3 separate regions of the Homo sapiens genome follow, and regions 1 and 2 are each linked to region 3. Evidence: promoter capture Hi-C in 16 types of primary human blood cells and fetal thymus (Javierre and others, 2016). All regions are on one chromosome and are shown on one strand. The core of a region is centred on a gene start or on the middle of the fragment in contact, and the rest is flanking DNA. Distances in the headings are between cores, read along the strand shown. Region 1 holds the start of GPR25 (G protein-coupled receptor 25). Region 2 holds the start of LMOD1 (leiomodin 1). Region 3 holds the start of TNNI1 (troponin I1, slow skeletal type).

What was found. Contacts are between HindIII fragments. The CHiCAGO score rates a contact against its expected background, and 5 or more counts as called.
Region 1: a contact is called between the fragment with the promoter of GPR25 here and the fragment with the promoter of TNNI1 in region 3, in 4 of 17 cell types (total B cells, M0 macrophages, naive B cells and 1 more). The highest score is 6.1, in total B cells.
Region 2: a contact is called between the fragment with the promoter of LMOD1 here and the fragment with the promoter of TNNI1 in region 3, in 4 of 17 cell types (M1 macrophages, M0 macrophages, naive B cells and 1 more). The highest score is 10.2, in M1 macrophages.

Annotation. Positions count from the first base shown.
Region 1 is chr1:200,871,369-200,874,613 of GRCh38, forward strand. It overlaps GPR25 (G protein-coupled receptor 25), which reads left to right and starts at 1,613. Exons shown (of 1, transcript NM_005298.4): 1 at 1,613-2,810. The coding sequence starts at 1,670. The coding sequence ends at 2,755. RefSeq lists an enhancer at 1,665-2,307. The HindIII fragment of the contact is 5,028 bases long and covers 604-3,245 here.
Region 2 is chr1:201,944,666-201,948,105 of GRCh38, forward strand. It overlaps LMOD1 (leiomodin 1), which reads right to left and starts at 1,883. Exons shown (of 3, transcript NM_012134.3): 1 at 1,415-1,883. The coding sequence starts at 1,675. The HindIII fragment of the contact is 4,460 bases long and covers 826-3,440 here.
Region 3 is chr1:201,420,032-201,423,327 of GRCh38, forward strand. TNNI1 (troponin I1, slow skeletal type) reads right to left here and starts at 1,699. Exons shown (of 9, transcript NM_003281.4): 1 at 1,642-1,699. The HindIII fragment of the contact is 15,457 bases long and covers 1-3,296 here.

The DNA of each region.
Region 1 (3,245 bases), core at 363-2,862, 550 kb before region 3:
GCTCTGGCAGACTGCTTGTCCCCTGAAAAGCCCACATTCCTACTCATTTTGGTATACTTGTTCCCTTTACTCCCTCCTCCGAGTCTGACCCTTTCTTCTCTTTTCTGCTGCTCTTATTTGACTTTCAGCTCCTTCCTGGGACTGATCTCAAGTGTCATCTCCTCGAAGGCCTTTTCTGATTCAGCCCTCCCGTCAAAAATAATCACTCCCCCTCCACTAAACCCTAAGAGGGCTTGGTTTTTAACATTTACTACAATTTGGCCCCTGCATAAGATTACATAAGATTCTGCTTATGTAACCATCTCTCCTGCCTATGCAACAAACTGCGAAGGCCAAGAATGGCATCTCTTGCAGTGCCTGAAACAGTGCCTGCTTCATGGAGGAGTTCATTGTTAACAAGTCTTAATCGAACAAAATTGATAATCCACCTCAAATTTTCCACACCGGGTTGCCCGGCACATCAGCCACTCATACCTGGGAACACTGGGGACAGACTCAGAGGGCACTGTGACATCAGTTCTACCACAATATCTTGTGGAAGGGATATCTGCTAAGAAGAATTCAGATGTAAGTGGCTGCATGCCTCCTTCAGGAGAAAGAGCAAGCTTTCCCTCACCCATCCTCTCCTCCTTAGGTCCCACTGCCTCCTCAGGGTCAGACTTCATTCCCCCTCGTCTTTATGAATCCTCCCCTTACTCTCAGTTTCTCAGTTCAGAAGGGATCTTGCTGCCTCCAAGCTCCTGACTCATAATTTAGGACAACTAATCTGGTGTTTCATTAGGTGTCATCTTTTGAACTGAGCTTACATCTGTGTCTGGCTTGACAGGTTTTTTAGGATAGGAGAAGACAGGGAAGAGGCAGATGTGAATCCCAGGTTTCACCCCTTTCCAGCAGGATGATCTGACTACACCCCTTCCTCGCTGCCTTAAAACCCTTTCGCGTGGCTTCATGAGGACCTGACTGGGTCAGAGAAGCCACTCATAGGGTGAAGACATGAGCCCCACATCTCAGGACGCTAACAACTGCTTGACTGCCCAGGGCGGGCTCCCCCACCCACCCAGATCTGCTGTGTCCCGGCAGTGGAGTCTTTCCTAGGGAACAGGTGGATTTGGGGTGGGGCGTGCCTTAGGCCCCATACTCATAAAATCCCGGGGCTCTGTCTTCTCACCTCTAAAACAGAGAAGACAGCAGCCGGTGGGTGCAGGTGGGAAGGGGTGAAGTGGAGGCTGAGAAGAGGTTAGGGCTCTCGGGCACCCACCACCTCTTGCAACGCGACCCTGAGACAGTGGGGCAAGTATCCCGATTTCACGAACAAAGAAACTGAGCAACTAATAGAGGAATGGGCCACGCTCCTACTGGGAGGCCGGGCAGGTCTCCCAGCCCTGAAGACTTTTCCTCCCAAGATTTAGATGTGAAGCCCCTTTTGCCTGTCCCTGCCCTTACCCCTCGGGTCAGCCCCAAATCGGAGGCCACCATCTCTCTCACAGAAGCCTGCCCCTCCCACCCCATCCCCTCCTCCCTCCCCTCTTTCCTGCCCACCCATTTGCCTCCGGCTTGGGTGGCAGGAAGGGAGGTGCAGGGCCGGGCGTGAAGAGCAAACCCCCTCCTGCTCAGAGCTGCTGCCGCCTGCGCCCAGGGCTGCACTCCGCGCAGGCCTCATAGCCAGGCCATGGCCCCCACAGAGCCCTGGAGCCCCAGCCCGGGGTCAGCGCCCTGGGACTACTCGGGGTTGGACGGCCTGGAGGAGCTGGAGCTGTGTCCGGCCGGGGACCTGCCCTACGGCTACGTCTACATCCCCGCGCTCTACCTGGCGGCCTTCGCCGTGGGCCTGCTGGGCAACGCCTTTGTGGTGTGGCTGCTGGCCGGGCGGCGGGGCCCGCGGCGGCTGGTGGATACCTTCGTGCTGCACCTGGCGGCAGCTGACCTGGGCTTCGTGCTCACGCTGCCGCTGTGGGCCGCGGCGGCGGCGCTAGGCGGCCGCTGGCCGTTCGGCGATGGCCTCTGCAAGCTCAGCAGCTTCGCGCTGGCGGGCACGCGCTGCGCGGGCGCGCTGCTGCTGGCGGGCATGAGCGTGGACCGCTACCTGGCCGTGGTGAAGCTGCTCGAGGCGAGGCCACTGCGCACCCCGCGCTGCGCGCTGGCCTCGTGCTGCGGCGTCTGGGCCGTGGCGCTGCTGGCCGGCCTGCCCTCCCTGGTCTACCGGGGGTTGCAGCCCCTGCCTGGGGGCCAGGACAGCCAGTGCGGCGAGGAGCCCTCCCACGCCTTCCAGGGCCTCAGCTTGCTGCTGCTGCTGCTGACCTTCGTGCTGCCCCTGGTCGTCACCCTCTTCTGCTACTGCCGCATCTCGCGCCGCCTGCGACGGCCGCCGCACGTGGGTCGGGCCCGGAGGAACTCGCTGCGCATCATCTTCGCCATCGAGAGCACGTTTGTGGGCTCCTGGCTGCCCTTCAGCGCCCTGCGGGCCGTCTTCCACCTGGCGCGTCTGGGGGCGCTGCCGCTGCCGTGCCCCCTGCTGCTGGCGCTGCGCTGGGGCCTCACCATTGCCACCTGCCTGGCCTTCGTCAACAGCTGCGCCAACCCGCTCATCTACCTCCTGCTGGACCGCTCATTCCGAGCCCGGGCGCTGGACGGGGCCTGCGGGCGCACCGGCCGCCTGGCGCGAAGGATCAGCTCAGCCTCCTCGCTCTCCAGGGACGACAGTTCCGTGTTCCGTTGCCGGGCCCAGGCCGCGAACACTGCCTCGGCCTCCTGGTAGCTGCCCCGGGCCGCTGGAGGTGGGCGGCAGCGGAGCATCGAGAGGAGGCCAGAGGTCCCGGAGGGGACTGAGCTCCCCAGACGCGCCTGTTCTGGCGGCAGCAAGCTGCTCGGGCCGGCATCGCATTTCCTCGCGCGCTGCCTGGACTCCCAAGGCCTCCTCCATCGGTTTCCCCGGAACCTCAGAACAATTGAACTCCCCTAAACCAGGCTCCTGTGACTAGCTGTTCCCTCTCAGCCTGCAGGGTACCTGAGCTAATTTTGTCCAGTCCAAGATAGGTGCTATGAGATGTAGCAGACAGCAACTCGGAGACCCGCAGATTCACCAAGTAGACAGAAGGGAAGTGGGTTTCCTTCTCTGTCCCATCGGGAAGAGAACCCACCAGAATATCTAACCCAGACCCCCAAATGCCATTCTGATTTCTGGCTGTGCTTTCTCCCGTCTCCCACAATAGCCGTTGCTTTCAGAGAAATACCTTCTCCAAGTCAGA
Region 2 (3,440 bases), core at 633-3,132, 520 kb after region 3:
CTGGCTTCCCTCCTTCCTCCCTCCTTCTCCCTCTTCTTGGCAAAGGCTTAAACATAGGTGGTGGGGCGGGGGGGGGCGGTAGGGACAGAGACAGAGTTCCAGCTCCTCTTTGCTTCACCCCCTTCCCTCCTCCTCCCTTCTTTCCCATTGCTACACTAAAGGAGTCAGGGCTGTGTCCACCAATATGCTCTGTGACTAGCAGTCAACACAATTTCATACCCAGCCAGTCATTCCGCAGGCATTTTGGATGATAATGTTCCCATTCTCAGTTCCTCTGTGAGAATGTGCATGTCATTTGAAGCTCTGTGCCTCAGTTTCCATAGAAGTAAAACAAAAAGCAAGAATTGAGACTGATCTTTTTCTTGCAAGAATTCACAAGTAATGGATAATGTACAAGAGATGTGGCTGAATAAGAGAACTAGAACAAAGACTTGAACAATTTTCCTATGCAACACTCTTTCCCATGGACAAAGGTATCCCACAAAGTCATACTTCATCGGAGGCTAGTTTGTCCAAAGAAAACTCACATACCAATGCAATAGTGACAAAAAAAAAATTCCTCCATGCCAACTCAGGAAAACAGAAAGCAAGTTGTGCTTAAGCCCATTGTAGGTGTGGGCAGATGCTTCCAAAACCGTCACCCCTTTTCCCTCCTCTATGACTATCTTCAACCCCCAGCAAAGCGGCCTCGCCAGCTGCTAAAGGGTTAATTACCAAAAAGAGGGCATGCTCCCTCCAGAGGCTCCTCTGGAGAGTGCAAAAACAAAACAAAACCAAAAACCAACTAACCACAACAAAAAACATCTTCCCTGGGAATAAATTTGAAGCTTATCAGGTCTTTAAGCCACATTTCCCAGCCCATAGACTCCTGGTCCCTGTCTCCCTTTGCTTTGGGAAACTCATTTACCCCCAAGCCTCCTGAAATGATCCATGTGCCGTGAGATGCCCATAGGGTTGGGGACTTGAAAATGAGTTATTCTCCCACAAAAAATGGCTTAGCTTTGTCTTTTTGGGTGGCTGACAGGAGACATAAAGTATCACTCTCTCTTTTTACCCCTCCTCACAATAGGATGGAATGAGTGTGGAGAAAAACAAAGGTATTGTGGGACCAGGATGGAGTCAACTTGACAATGGACTCTTCAAGGACACCTTCCAGCTCCCATTCTACTAGTAGCTCTATTTGATTTTGTGGGATGTTGTGTTCCTCCAACATATCCGACTTCTGCTTATAAAACAGAAATTAGGAGTAAGAGATTCGCACCGCTAGTTCAGTGGATAATCATCAGTTCTGAAGCATTAAAATCCTTTGCCAACAAGAACGTTTCTTCTAAGGAAGGAAGCATCCTAATCATGAAGCCAGGGTCTCCAGCCCTCCCCTGTCTCCCTCCTCCCCTCCAGGGCTGTGCTCACTCACATCCATGGACATCTCCCTCTGCATAAGTTTCTTGGTCTCCTTTTCACAGAAGTTGAGCATGGCCTCCCGGTTGTACACACCCGTGGACTGTTTCTCCGTCTGGTTTCTCTGCCGCAGCCCCACGGGAACACTCCCGTCTGGGTCCACCACGTCCAGCTCCTTCTCCAGCTCCTCCATCTCCTCGGGAGACAGGGTCTCCAGCAGGCTGTCGATGTCGGGGTCTTCACTCACCTGCCGGCGATATTTGGCTACTCTAGACATCTTGGCAAAATGGGCTGTGGCTGCCAGGGGCTATCAGAGTCCTGGTGGGCAGGGAAGGGAGAGGGGTGAGCTGATCTGGATGCAGCGAGTGGGCTGAGGAGCAAACCTCCTGCTGGTCGAGGACTGCAGCTCCTTGGCCCTTCTGTGCTACAGGTGCTGAAGTGTTCACTGGACGCAGCAGCCTCCCTGAAGCCCAGGGCTAGTGGACCCCGGCTGGTCTAATCAGCGGCCAATAAGACCCGACAACTGCCAGGCCCGGAGAGGAGAAGCCAATCCCCAAGCTGGGGGCGGGCCTACCTCGCTGTCAGAGCTGTTTGAAACTTGAGGACATTCCAGGGAATCTTGGAGCGCTGCGTGACCAAATTTAGTACAGAGCAGTTTAGCCTTTTAAAGACAAGGGGCCACGCAATGAGAAAAAGATACAAAAATGCGTAGGCTGGCAGAAGCAGATCACAGCCACGGAGAGCCAGACAAGCAGGGACGAGGCCATGAGGGCCGGTGAACTCGCCAGCCCGGGGCACGTTCAAGAGCGTATTTTACTACTCCATCACCGGGTGGACGTATCACTGTGGTCAATGTGTGGTTCATGGACTTCCTTCTACAGTATTTGGTAATGTGCTGGGGGGCTCCCAGGTGTATACAGCTCCAGGAAAGTCTAGATTCAAGATGAGGAGCTGTTACTCCTAACCCCCTGCCTACCCATTTTCTTTCTACCCAGGTTCTGCCAAGGAGGACCTGAAGGCTGAGCATCAGAGGCTCCAGGATCCTTTGGCCACTTCTTAAGAGAGAGACAGGAGACAGAAAGACAAACTTAGAGATAGAGATAGCTAGGCAGGAGAGGGAGAGAGAGAGAGAGAGAGAGAGAGAGAGAGAGAGAGAGAGAGAATAAATCCTTACTGTGTACCAAAACTGAAAACTGGCAGGCTGTTTGGGAAAGAGAGAAGGATCTGCAGAAGTCGGGAAACTCTTAAAGGGCTGTCACTTTCCATGAAGTTCCAAGGCTCTTGGGAAGAGGGTTCAAACCTCCCCCTGTTGTCATCTGTTTCTTCCTCTGCCGGGCATCTGTAGACAGACCTCCTTTGGGAGCACAGAGGCAGGTCACCACCCACATATAAATCCAGAGCACGATTTAGTATGTCTTCAGGGAAACAGAATTCTGGGCCGTCGGGAGAGATACGATTGCAACAGGTCTGGCATGTTTCATAGAAGGGCTTTCCACTGCTCATCCATCATGCTGCCCTGCACAAGTCACAGAGACATTCAATCCCCTGCCCCCCTTCCTCCTGCCACAAAATCCCTTCTAGAAGCCCTGGTGTAACCCATCAGGGTAGATGCTTCGATCTTTCCTGGCATCTTTCCATCCTAAGCCAGAGAGAGACAGTCACTTGATCAGCATTTGCTGAGTCCAGGGATCGTCTGGGACTAAAACTTGGCCGTGCCATTTAATGTCCACTAGTCCAACTTTAGGTTAAGGCTGAAGAGGGGAATGGTGTCCACTGGGGGGACTGAAGGGCAGAAGGAAGGCAGGCAGACTTGATAGGAAGAGTGGAAGAAGACTTTAGGGAAACCTGGGGGTTGTCATTTTAAGAGTCAGTAGCCAACTTATTGGTCAAACCGTAGGTATATATTTATTGAGTGATTTATCAAGTGCCTATTATATATCAGGCATTGTTCTAAGAGCAAGAGATATCACTAAAGATACAAAATCAGGCCAGGTGCAGTGGCTCATGTCTGTAATCCCAGCACTTTGGGAGGCCAAGGCAAG
Region 3 (3,296 bases), core at 449-2,948:
AGTGTCCAGAGGGCACCAGGTCTGCGTCTGTCTCCCTGGGATGTGCCTTGTCCTTGGTGGGCATTTGGCAGTGATCATGCCTCCCTGTCTCCCTCAGAGATCCAACTGTCCCCATTGTGGGGCCCTACCTTCCAAGGCCGGTTTACACCTCCTGCCAAGCTCCGGGGCCTGCCCCCAGCCTGCCTCACTGACAAATGCCAGACCAAGGGGTCCCACGTCAGGCAAGAGGCCTCAGCCTGTGCTCTGACACCCCTCAGACGGGGGCCCTTGCCAGGCTCTGTGGAAGACAAGCGAGGACTGATAAGTCAGGATGAAGATAGCAGCCACTGGAAGGCTTGGAGAGCCAGGATTCCATCTCCTCTACAAGTAGCAAGCAAGGAGATAATGAGAAAATCCTCCCCCCGAGGGGGGGAGCAAAGAGTCTCTGGTGGTTGCCTCAGAGCTGGGCTTTCCCTTCCTTGAGGCTTTGCAGCGTGGAAGGGACTATCCGCTAGACTATGAGATTGAGTCTGTGTGTGTAAGTGTGTGTAAGTGACTGTGTGTGAGAGTGTGAGTGTGAGAGAGAGAGCGTGTATATGTAGGGGAAAGAACTGATCTCTTTGCACACCCAATGATCACGTCCACAAGTATCTAGTTAGGCTCATGTGCTTCCCCCTGCTCCCCGCCCCCTGACCTTGGACCCCCATTCAAGGGCATCCCTGTCTTCCTTGACTGACGGTTAACACTCCCAAGTGCATGGCGCTGGGCTGCCCCCATCTTGAGTTCTGAACAGCAAAGCCTAATCTCAGAGCTGCTGTGGGACTGTGACTCCCAAACCTGGTGGCAGGTGCTGCCTTCAGCCCCCACCTGAGTCAGGGACCGCCACACGGCCCCCTGCCCCAAGCCTTGGGTTACCCTGTAGATACTGCCCTGGCTTATGTGTTCACTGGCTCCTGTGCCCCAACCCAAAATGCCGCCACCATTGCCTTCCTCCAAGAGGACCCCCAGTATCTACTGCTGCTTCTCAGAGCCAGGAGCTCTGAGCAGGAGCAGTCAAGAGGGGTTGCCGGTCTGCCCTCCTCTGCTCTTGTGCTACACTACAGAGGGATAGGCAAAGGGAGCTAACAGCGTCGCTCAGAGACAAAGAACACAGAAGCAAGATGGTTTCCTTGGCCAGCAGGGAGCTCTGGCCCTGCCTTCTAGGCTCCCTGGGAGTCCTGCGCGTCAGGCACCCTCCTTCTCTTCCGCTGCAGGCATTGCTGACTTTGAGCACTCACCCTGGCTCTCTGATCCCAGGGCCACCCCTTCCCCTGGGTGCGCTCTCCCTCCCACACTCTGCTGGGCATCCTGTGTGAAAACATCATCCCTTAGGCTCTGCCCTGGGGCTCCTAAGGAACCTCACGGAAGATTCTGCTCCTTGCTCACAGCCTCCAAATGGCCAGGAAAAAGTTTCACCTCTCACAACAGTTTTGCAGGAGAGATGCCATTCTGTGGGACAAAATGCTGTGGGAGTATTTTAGGAATGTTCTACCAACAAACCAACTGCACAGGCAAGAAATGGTTTTCTCCAGCTCCAAGACCTCGCTTTCTCCTTAAACAAAAGCCCCAGGTTCTCTGCCTGGGATCAACCTACATCTGAAGTTCTGGGCTGCAGACGCTTACCTTGTTCAGTCCTCGTGGAGCTGGGCTGGCCTGTGCCTCGCCGTAGACTGCAGACTGTGAGGGGCAGAGCCGAGGGGAGGCTATGAAAACTGTGTCCAGCAGCAACTGGCTGGTAAAAATAGAACAGACCCACTGCCCCCTCCTGCTGCCCCTCCTCCCTCCCACCCTTCACACACACACACACACACACACACACACACACACACACACACACCTCACAGGGCAGATGCGTGCTGCAATGCACACAACAGGCACATAGGCGGAAAGCCATGTGAATTTGTGGCTCAGGAGCAGAGGCAAATTCTGTGCACATAGGTGCCACCAACTGAGTGAAACCAGCACCCACCTGGGGAGACTCGAGCTGCAGAAAGGGAAAGAATGAGCAGCCAGACCAGGTGTGGGGACTGAGCAGAGATGGGACTGGGAGGGGGAATGAGGGAGAGCAAAGGGCCACAGTGAAGGCCCAGAGGGGCAAGTAGCAGCTGGGGGAAGAGGACCATTGGGCTAACCCTGCATCTCTTATAAGGCAATATGGAAATGAGGCCCCTGAACCCATGCCCCAAAAGCCCAAGAGGGCTAAAGACTCAGCTTTCAGGGATTTTTCAGTGGCTCTGGTGCACGTGGGATACGAGGGTGCCTGGCTGTGGGGAGTGATGTGAGCAGTGTTGCAGGCTGACCCCAGTGAGTGTTTCCAGGGCTGAGCAGAATGGCAGTGGCAGCAGGGCACACCTTTATGCTCAGGGAGGTCTGAGGGTCTGCAGACACTCTGCATCCCCCTCCAGATGGGTTTCCTGGAATCTAGATTTCCCAGGTTCCAAAGGACACCCGAGTCTCATGCCTGGAACTCAGTGAGACTAATTCACCTCTCCTCTGCCCTAATCTTCATCTCCAGCCAGAAGCCAACAGATCCCAGGGGACTGGAGCCACAGGGGCTGCACCTGTTTACCGGGTATTTTTAGGATGGTTGATGAACACATAATACCCACCCTATAGTCAGAGAAAGACAATGCCTGCTATGTTAATCCTGTGGCTATTATAGTCTGTCATCTCATGGGTTGGGGCAGGACACTGACCCTCTCAGAGGCCAGAGAGAGGCCTCGCAAGCAGGAGGTTAGGGAGCCCCAGCCATGCTCCCCATTTGGAGAAGGAGAGAGTAATGGGCAGGGGTGTCCTAAGGAGACACACCCCAGTGCCCACAGAGGTAAAGGCCCTGCCCTCTCTACAACGACATTCTGCTGCCTAATAGAGGTTGCTCTAATTCTGTTCTGGTCGGGTCAACTTTGAGAAGCCTCTATGTGAGACGGCTGCCAGGGAGAAATGACAGGGTCTGGGGAGGCATAGGGGTTGGGGACATAGGATTCCAAGTGGAGAGGCTGTGATGGATAATGAAGGCAGGCTCCAGCCAAAAGGAGCAGCTAGAGGGGAGAAGGAATTTAGGGGCTTTGCAGATGAGCCTACTGGAGTTTATTGCCTTGGCTTATTATAATTTATACAATAACTTTCCATTTATTTATTTATTTATTTATATACTTTTGGAGACAGAGTCTCACTCTGTCACCCAGGCTGGAGTACAGGGGCTCTGTCACCCAGGCTGGAGTACAGTGGCTCACTGCAACCTCCACCTCCCGGGTTCAAGTGATTCTCCTGCCTCAGCC